Regions from separate parts of the Homo sapiens genome. Here regions 1 and 2 are each linked to region 3. Evidence: promoter capture Hi-C in 16 types of primary human blood cells and fetal thymus (Javierre and others, 2016). All regions are on one chromosome and are shown on one strand. The core of a region is centred on a gene start or on the middle of the fragment in contact, and the rest is flanking DNA. Distances in the headings are between cores, read along the strand shown.

Region 1 (3,196 bases), core at 341-2,840, 290 kb after region 3:
ATTCGAATGTGGTCGCCGGGGAACGGGCGGCGCCCACACCCCCCGCGCTCGGAGAACTCCCCAGTCCCGCCTGAAACGAACGCGGTGCCCTAAAGTGCGGGCTGCAGGCTCTGCCGCTTGACGCGGCGATGATTGAAGGTGCTGCTTTTAGGAGAGAATAGAAAGGGCCTTCTTTCCTTTCCCCCGGTGGATGTAAACGTGCTTGTTATTATGGGGCATTTAGAAAAGCTTCTGTCCACTGTGTATTCTCTTTGGCAACGCTCTAGACACTTTGAGGGTTGCTGTCAGATCTGGCCCAACCTCTCCTATGTGACGGGAAGGATTTCAGGCATTTCAAGTGCCCCGCGCAGTGACTGGCCCGGAATTCCGCGCGTCTTCCCGGTAGCGTTTTTCCTTTGTCTTTGGTAGAGGACTGGGGGTGGGTGGGGGGGTGGGTCTCACACTGTTGCTCACGCTGGTCTCGAACTCCTGAGCTCCGTGGATCCTCCCGCCTCGGCCTCCTACGCGCTGGGAGTGCAGGTGTGAGCAACCCCGCCCGGCCCAGAGCGGCTTAATACCAGCTTTCCAGCGTTGTGATTTCCGGAGAAACGCAGGCTGACTTCCATGTTTACTATTCACTCTTCTTCACTAATGACACCACGTACATTCTGTTCGTGATTTCTGTGTGACTCAAGTCCACAAATCCTTCGTGTGCTATGCGGAGCCTTTGTGATTGTTGAGGGTTCTCAAGATACTCACTGATGGGGCCGGGCGCGGTAGCCCATGCCTGTAATCCCAGCACTTTGGGAGGCCGAGGCGGGTGGATCACAAGATCAAGAGATCGAGACCATCCTGGCCAACATGGTGAAACCCCGTCTCTACTAAAAATACAAAAATTAGCCGGGCGTGGTGGTGTGTGCCTGTAATCCCAGCTATCGGGAGGCTGAGGCAGGAGAATCACTTGAACCTGGGAGGCGGAGGTTACAGTGAGCCGAGATCGTGCCACTGCCCTCCAGCCTGAGTGACAGTGAGACTCTGTCTCAAAAAAAAAAAAAAAAAAAAAAACCGGTATTCATTTATGTAAAAGACTCCCTGATGTAGGTAATGTCGGTCTGGTTTAAAAACCTATACAACCAAACAACATAGGCAATGTTTAGTCTTAGGAAAGACTAACCAACATCAGGTGGCAGTTTTTCTGTTTAAAAAAACCTATTTTGGCCGGGAGTGGTGTTTCACCCCTGTAATCCTAGCACTTTGAGAGGCCTACGTGGACAGATTGCCTGAGTTCAGGAGTTCAAGACCAGCCTGGACAACATGGTGAAACCCCGCCTGTACTAAAATACAAAAAATTAGCGCGGCGTGGTGGCGCCTGTAATCCCAGCTACTCGAGAGGCTGAGGCAGGAGAATCGCTTGAACCCGGGAGGCGGAGCTTCAGTGAGCCGAGATGGTGCCATTGGACTCCAGCCTGGGTGACAGAGCGAGACTCTGTCTCCAAAAAAAAAAATGGTTTCAAAATGTTTTGAGAAGCATCTGTTTTGTCTGATGTGTTTTAGTTGATTAAGTGCAAGTTGCAGGATCGGAATCTTGAACAATAAATCTTCCACTAAAAAGTGTTGAGTGGAATTACTGCTCGTCGTAACAGGTGTAATGAGACAGCGTGGTACTGAAACCAGCAAATTTGTGGGTGTGTCTGTGGCCAGCCCAGTGTGTGTCCTGCTGACTGGACCAGCTGTGGTTTTCCTGTCTGTGACCTTCAGCTCCCTTCTGCATCTTTGCTTTCTGTTTGGTGTGTTCTCTCATAATGTCTGTATCGTCATTTTCATTCTCCATATTTTTTTAGTTACGACGATTCTTTTCCTTCATGGTTTTGACCATTAGTGTTTTTAATTTCTGTTGTGATACAGTACTTTGTCTTGAGCTCCACAATTGTGTAATAAAATAACAATACACTGGCCGGATGCGGTGGCTCACGCCTGTAATCCCAGTACTTTGGGAGGCTGAGGTGGGCGGATCACGAGGTCAGGAGATCGAGACCATCCTGGCTAACACAATGAAACCCCATCTCTACTAAAAATACAAAAAATTCACCGGGCGCGGTGGCTCACGCCTGTAATCCCAGCACTTTGGGAGGCCAAGGCAGGCGGATCGTGAGGTCAGGAGATCAAGACCATCCTGGCTAACGTGGTGAAACCCCGTCTCTACTAAAAATACAAAAAATTAGCTGGGTGTGGTGGTGGATGCCTGTAGTTCCAGCTACTTGGGAGGCTGAGGCAGGAGAATGGCGTGAACCCGGGAGGCGGAGCTTGCAGTGAGCCCAGATCACGCCACTGCACTCCAGCCTGGGCGACAGAGCGAGGCTCCGTCTCAAAAAAAAAAAAAAAAAAATACAAAAATTTAGCCGGGCATGGTGGCATGCGCCTGTCGTCCCAGCTACTCGGGAGGCTGAAGCAGGAGAATCGCTTGAACCTAGGAAGTGGAGGTTGCAGTGAGCAGAGATCATGTCACTGCACTCCAGCCTGGGCGACAGACAGAGACTCCATCAATAAATAAACAAAATAACAATACACCACACATACTGACTTGCGAGTGTGTGAAGGGGTTCTGTCCTGAGAACACACATCTCTTCAGCTACTTTTGCTGTGTTATTAGCAATTTGTGTGTTATTTCTTCTGGAACTTCCAGAATTTCTCAGGACAATTGCATATGTTTCAGATGTGCAAAGCCTTGATGTGACTTCACACTCCAGGGATCACAGTTGGTGCTGCCACAGGCGTGTGCCCTGCAAGCACAGGCATTCCAAGAAATGGTTCACTGCAGCAAAATTTCTGCTGTGGGGCAGGGACCAGCTCCATAGAATCTGCCCTCCAGGAGGGATTTCCCATCCTGACCAGCATTCAAGAGTAGGTTCTCTGCTCACACTATGGGAGTCAGATGTTCGGAGAATGTTCCAGACTGTGTGTTGGGAAGTATTTCAAAGCTTGATCTCCCCAAGCCTTGTGTGCTCCTCTTGCCTGGGGCTAGTGGTCAGGAGCCCCGTGGGTCAATTTCTGGCCAGGTGAGCACGTGGCAGCTGGCCATAGCATAGCTGGGTCGAAGGGACTGCAGAGCCCAGCACAACCCCCATGCCTCCTCCAGTGCTTCCCCAGGAGGCAGGGTGGACACTGCCCTACCTGGGGCCCTATGGCTGGGCCTCAGATCTTCCCAGCCAGCCTCTTT
Region 2 (3,268 bases), core at 635-3,134, 340 kb after region 3:
GCATGGTTGGTTTTTTTTTTTTTTTTTTTTGAGATGGAGTCTCGCTTGGTCGCCCAGGCTGGAGTGCAGTGGTGCCATCTTGGCTCACAGCAACCTCCGCCTCCTGGGTTCAAACAATTCTCCTGCCTCAGCCTCTTGAGGAGCTGGGATTACAGGTGCCTGCCACCACTCCCGCCTAATTTTTGTATTTTTGGTAGAGACGGGATTTCGCCGTGTTGGCCAGGCTGGTCTCAAACTCCTGACCTCAGGTGATCCACCTGCCTCGGCCTCCCAGAGTGCTGGGATCGCAGGCATGAACCACTGCACCCAGCCAGCGTGGTATATTAAAAATACTTTCCTGCACATTAACAAATGTTCACCTCTCGGTGCAGCTCGCCTTGTAAGTGTGGTGGGGAAGCTAGGAGTCTGAGTGCACATGCAGGAGCTCTTCGCTGCAGGTCCCGAGTGGAGGGAGAGGTAATCTGTAGAGTGCCCCAAGAGTGAAGTGCTGCGTCCCAGTGTCAAACAGAGGTAACACCTCGCTTTTCTTTTCCTTTTTTTTAAACGGTGACGGGGGTCTCACCATGTTGCCCAGGCTGGTCTTGAACTCCTGGGCTCAAGTGTTCCTCCCACCTCAGACTCCCAAGTTCAGGGATAATAGGTGTAAGCCACTGAGCCCAACCTAAAACTCGCTTTTAAATAAAGAACTCAGGCCGGGTGCGGTGGCTCACACCTGGAATCCCAGCACTTTGGGAGGCCGAGGCAGATGGATCACCTGAGGTCAGGGGATTGAGACCATCCCGCCCAACATGGTGAAACCCCGTCTCTACTAAAAATACCAAAATTAGTCGGGCGTGGTGGTGGGTGCCTGTAGTCCCAGCTACTCTGGAGGCTGAGGTGGGAGAATCACTTGAACCCGGGAGGTGGAGGTCACAGTGAGCCGAGATGGCACCACTGCACTCCAACCTGGGCGACAGGAGCAAAAACTCCATCAAAAAAAAAAAAAAAGGAAGGAGAAAGAAAGAAAGAATACACTGATCTCTCTTATAGTGTATACTGTCTATTACTACTGATTTTAAAGCTACAACCTTAAGCATCATACTCCCTGTGTTTAGAATATTCAGGGTGTAGTATTGTGGTTCACATTGTAGTATTGTGGTTCTCCATTGTGGTTCCCCGGAAGTGATCAAGGTGATACTTTACATTCAGGGTGTCCAGTCTTTAGGCTTTCCTGGGCCACATTGGAAAAAGTATTGTCTACACTAACAAGAGCTGGTAAGCTGAAAAAATCACAAAAATCATAATGTTTTAAGAAAGTTTATGAATTTGTATTGGGCCACATTCAAAGCCATCCTGGGCTGCATGCAGCCCACGGGCCGTGGGTTGGACAAGCTTGTTTTAAGAGTTTAGGAAGAAAAATAATACTTCTGGTTATTTTTTTCATCCTGCTTAGTTGCTATTTTTCTGTTTTACAGTGTGCAATACTGTAATATAATTTATACATATATTAATATATTGTTGCCAGCTTATTTTTACTTTAAACTTTTTTTTGAGGAATATTTCACATAAAACAAACTTAAGGGTACCTTTCAAAGAGTTTTGACAGCTGTATACACCATGTAGCCGAAATCACAATCAAAATAATAGATCCAGATATTACCCCTCACCCCAAACCTTCCTCTTGCCCCTTGGCAGTCAGCCTCATCCCCCTGGAGAGTCCCAGACACTCAACTCTGTGCCTCCCCTCCCGTAGAAGTGTTTTCTTCCAGGGTTTCATAAACATGGAATCATGTAGAATATACTGGTGTTTGGCTCGCTCTTATTCACATGGTATATTTGAGGTTCATCAGTGTTACTTGTGTGGGCAGTTTTCCTTTGCGATTGCTGGGCGGCAGCTGAGTGGATTCTCTTCTATGGATGTACCCCCATTTGTGGATCCATTCACCTACGGCTGACTGTCTAGACAGTGTCCAGTCTGGGCTGCTGTGCATCACGCTGCTGTGAACGTCTGTGTAGGAGTCACATTTGTGTGAACTGGTGCTCTCACTTCTCTTGGCAGATAACTACAAGTACGAGTGGTGGGGCCAGGTGGTCAGTGTGCATTTATTTCACAGAAAAGCTGACCCACTTTTCCAGAGCAGTTGCACCAGTTTGTATTCTTGCTGGCAGTATGTGACAGCTAGTTGCTCCATATCCTTGTCAGCACTTGGTTTTGTCAGTCTTCTTATATTAGCCATTATCTGGGTGTGTAGTGGTATGTCAGTATGTGTATTTTTTTTTAATACTTTGGATCATTTACATCAACCGTGGTTTAATTTGCCTTGCTGTTGAGCATCTCTACATGTGCTTTTGGCCATTTCTATGTCATCTGTAGTGAATGACCATTTTTAATGGGTTGTTTACCTTCTTACTGAATATTAAGCTTTGTTTATATACCCTGAACAGAAGTCCTTTGTGAGATAGGTGTATTGTGAATATTTTCTCCCATTCCATCCTTTGCCCTGTTTGTTGATACTGTATTTCATATATTCAAATATTGATTTCTACTTAATTTTTCACTTAGAGGTGTACAGTCAAAAGCATTTGGAGGCTACTGCTCAGCTGAATTAGCAGAAGGAATTGCTGTGGACTGAATAGAGGAAGGAAAGGACCCAGGCGCTGTCCCACAGCCTCTCCCGTGACCTCACCCTGGGGGAGGCATGGGTGTTTGGCAGAGAGCCCTTTTTGGTTTTACGTGAATGTCATTTGGGCGGGTGTGGGGTAGAATGATCTCAAGAGCATTCTCACCTCCGAGGAGCGGTTGCGTCTCGATGCATCGGCACAGGAGGGCTGTGCACTTTCCACTGCCACCACCCGTGAGACCTCCAGAGAGCCTGACCCTGCCATCTGCACTAAGATCCCCAGCTGTTGTCTGGTGATCCAGATGAGAGGACCAGCGTGATAGTTTCTCACAGCAGCCTCTGGCAGGACCTGGAGTGGAAATCTTCCTTAGTCTAAAACACATCCCGAATGACTGAACATTATAGGAGAATGTGTCTTTGTTTTACGAGGCCACTTGAAGTCCACCTCCCTCCTCTTCTGGGTGTGGCCCTTGCCTGTAGCTCCGAGTGTGAGGATCTTAAGTGTGAGGGTGTGTGCTCCTGAGCCAGCCTTTACCCCAACACCAAGTTGCCACACCGAACTGCAGACCTGGCAGCCCTGTCCAGCAACTTCCTTATCACAGTTACAGTGCAGCAAATGGGAGAGGGGCCAAAACCCCCAAAATTATTCTCCTTATTACAGTTACAGT
Region 3 (3,286 bases), core at 770-3,269:
GTCTCTACTAAAAATACACAGATTAGCTGGGGGTGGTGGTGGGCGGCTGTAATCCCAGCTACTTGAGAGGCTGAGGCAGGAGAATCACTTCAACCCAGGAGGCAGAGGTTGCAGTGGGCCGAGATCGCGCCACTGAACTCCAGCCTGGGCGGCAAAGAGAGACTCCGTCTTAAAAAAAAAAAAAAAAGAAAAAAAAAAAAGAAAAAGAGAGAAAGAAAGAAACATCATCTTTTACATAGTGGCAAGATATTTCCCCACAAAATATTTATTATTTACAAAGGGAAGGACCCTAACTTTATGGACACACTTGGCAGACACCACCTCAGCCCCCAGGACGTGACTAGCACCAACAGCCAGGGGCATCCTGTGTCTCGTAAGACGCTGGGAAGGGCACAATTTCCCTGTTGAGGTTTTCTTGCCAAAAATCAGTAATATGAAATCAATTATGACAAAACATCAGAGAAATGCCCCCGAACTGGGGGGCATTTTATAAAATAGTGGACTCATCATTGGATCCTGGACCACGGTAAAGTCATCCATGAGGTAGCTGCTAAGCAAGAATAAATACTGGAGACCAGATCATGGGATGATACCAACATGAACGCCAGCGTCTACATGTTGCTGAATGAACTGTGGTTCTCTAAGAGGTCAGCATTCTAGGGGCTCTGGGCAAAAGGCACACGGGAAATCTGTGCTCCTTTTGTATCCTTTTTCTAAGTTACAGATAATTTTTTTTTTTTTTGAGACCGAGTTTCGCTCTTGTCTCCCAGACTGGAGTGCAATGGCGCGATCTTGGCTCTCCGCAACCTGCGCCTCTCGGTGTGGTACCCTACTTTGTTTTAACCTGACTGACTCTCTCTTAGCTGAGAGGGCCGGACAGACACCATTTTGGTTTCTTCGCTTGCAGCCCCTTGTCCCCGTCCCTTAAGGACATAACTGGGGCAAGCTGACTCCAAGCACATCCAGGAATGCGCTTACTGATAAAATACTGATAAGAAACTGGAGCAAGCTGTACCAGCAGCTCCTGGGAACGCGCTCGGTTGATGGTACCCAAAGCCCCTGCGTTTATCACTTTGTGATAATTTAAGCCCCTGTACCTGGAACTGTTTATTTTCCTGTAACTGTTTCTGTAACCATTTATCTTTTAACTTTTTGCCTATTCTGCTTCTGTAAAAAAATCGCTTCAGCTAGCCTCCCCTCCTCTATTTAGACCAAGGTATCAAAAGAAATCTAGCCCCTTCTTCGGGGCCGAGGGAATTTGCAGCTCTAGCAGTCTGTCAGTCGCTGGCAATACAGGACTCCTGAGTAGTCTCAGAGTGTGGCGTTCTCTCTATAACTCCCTCAGTTACAACATCGGGTTCAAGCGATTCTCCTGCTTCAGCCTCCGGAGTAGCTGGGATTACAGGCGTGCACCACCACGCCCAATAATTTTTGTATTTTTAGTAGAGAGGGGGTTTCACCATGTTGGCCAGGCTGGTCTCGAACTCCGGGCCTCAAGCAATCTGCCCGCCTCTGCCTCCCAAAGTGCTGGATTACAGGCGCGAACCACCGCCTCCGGCCTTTTTTTTTCCTCTCTTTTTTTTTTTTTTTTTTTAAACTCACAGACACTGTAAGGCTGCCTGGGCGCGGAGCCGTCCTTGCCGGCGGCGGAACCCGGGGAATTCTCCCGGGGCTGCGGGGCCCTGGTCGGCAGCGCCCACCGCCCCAGGTCACCCACGGGAGACCGAGGGAACGCTCCCGCTCCACGCGGCCGCAACCCCCGCCCCGCCCCGCCGCAGCCTCCGCGAGGGGATCCCCGGTCCGGGCCTGGCCGAGCTCTGAGGGTCGACCTCGCGCTCCAGGTCCCCACCAAAGCGCTGCGTCCGACAGGACGGCAGCTGCTGGGGTTTTCTACAGGAAGAGTGGTCGGAGCGGCGCCCCCCACGCCTCCCACGCCTCCCACGCCGCCCGCCCGCACCTCACCCTAACGCCCGCCAGCAGCGCTGGCCAGGTCCCGCCGCGTTGCCACAGCGACCGGGTCAGTCGGCCGCGTCCGGCTGCGCTCGGTGCAGCGCTCGGGTCCCGCCGACAGGAAACGGGGTCCCTGGCGCTAGGTTCCGGCCCCTCCCGCCCCGCCGGGTTCCGCGCTGCGCCCGGGTCCGAGGGGCGCCCCGGCCGACCCGACCACCGCCGCAGATCGAAGGAGGGAGCCCGGCCTCCTCACCGGTCAGCGGGGCGACTCCGGACGGGGCTCCGGGCTATGGGGACGGCGGGTTCCGCCGCGCGAGGCGCCCCCACCTTCGCCGCCCCCGGCCCGGCCGAGGGTCCCCAGGCGCCCGCTTCCTGAGGCCGCCCGGCTCGCGGTCCCGAAGGGTTGACTTGAGCTTTTGCCCTGAGATGAAGGGAGCACGGGGCGGCCGAGGCTGCCCGTGGGGGTCTGTTCGGGCCGGGGGCGCCACGAAGTCCTGCCTAAGGGTCGGCTGCGGCCACCGGGGCACGAGTTCCCGGCGCTGCCCACGGGCTCGGAGACCGGCGGGGCCCAGGGGCCGTGCGCGCGGTCGCTCAGACCCTGATTAGGGAACTGGGGGAAGGAGGGGGGTCGGGACCCACCGAGGCCCGAAGTCGCCCCCACCATCCTGTGGGAACAACATCCTCAGGCACAGCCATTCCCAACCATTCACATCCTCAGAAAAAGGCACGTGTCCGTATCCATCTGCGGATGGATGAACAGAGCCCGGCCCCGGGACAGAGCAGCCTGGCTCACCCGAACCCTCAGCCCGCAATTCTGCGTGGGAGTGGAGGGGGTGTTTGGTGTCTGGGAATTCCCCTGGTGGGGCAATAAGCCAGGGGTCTGGTGTCATCCTCCACCCACATTGTTAACACTGGATCACTCCTCTCCGTGCCGTGCCTGCAGCCCAGGCACCCTGCAGCCTGTCCTCCCCGAACCATGCGTCCTGGTAGAGCTGTCTCCCTCGCCCACAGTCCTCAGTCCCGCCTCACACACCAAACCCTCTTCTGCCTCAGGTCCTTTGCGCCAGTTGCCTCTGCCTAGACTTGGTTCCCTGGATGCCCCCTCCCCACCCCATGTGTATGTCCGGCTCCCTGGACCCACCCCCCACACTGTGTGTCTAGCCCCCTGGACCCACCCCCCACTCTGTGTCTAGTCCCCTGGACTCCCCTCCCCACCCCCTGTGTCTAGCTCCCTGGACCCCCAACCTGGCCCATGTGTCCAACTCCCAGGACCCCCCCACCCTGTGTCCAGCTCCCTGGTTTCCCCCACCACCCCATGTGTTTGGCTCCCTGTCCT

Evidence for each region. Contacts are between HindIII fragments. The CHiCAGO score rates a contact against its expected background, and 5 or more counts as called.
Region 1: a contact is called between a fragment that was not itself captured here and the fragment with the promoter of CCDC57 in region 3, in 1 of 17 cell types (activated CD4 T cells). The highest score is 5.2, in activated CD4 T cells.
Region 2: a fragment that was not itself captured here is called in contact with the fragment with the promoter of CCDC57 in region 3 in 6 of 17 cell types (activated CD4 T cells, naive CD4 T cells, total CD8 T cells and 3 more); the score reaches 12.7 in activated CD4 T cells.

Annotation. Positions count from the first base shown.
Region 1 is chr17:82,497,629-82,500,824 of GRCh38, forward strand. No RefSeq gene overlaps it. Among named protein-coding and RNA genes, the nearest start is that of TRX-CAT1-8, 4.4 kb to the left of the region's middle. The HindIII fragment of the contact is 2,729 bases long and covers 227-2,955 here.
Region 2 is chr17:82,546,105-82,549,372 of GRCh38, forward strand. The region is part of intron 1 of FOXK2 (forkhead box K2); the gene reads left to right. Among named protein-coding and RNA genes, the nearest start is that of FOXK2, 28 kb to the left of the region's middle. The HindIII fragment of the contact is 1,030 bases long and covers 1,370-2,399 here.
Region 3 is chr17:82,210,823-82,214,108 of GRCh38, forward strand. CCDC57 (coiled-coil domain containing 57) reads right to left here and starts at 2,020. Exons shown (of 19, transcript NM_001394669.1): 1 at 1,963-2,020. RefSeq lists a silencer at 1,561-2,480 and an enhancer at 2,431-3,286. The HindIII fragment of the contact is 36,876 bases long and covers 1-3,286 here.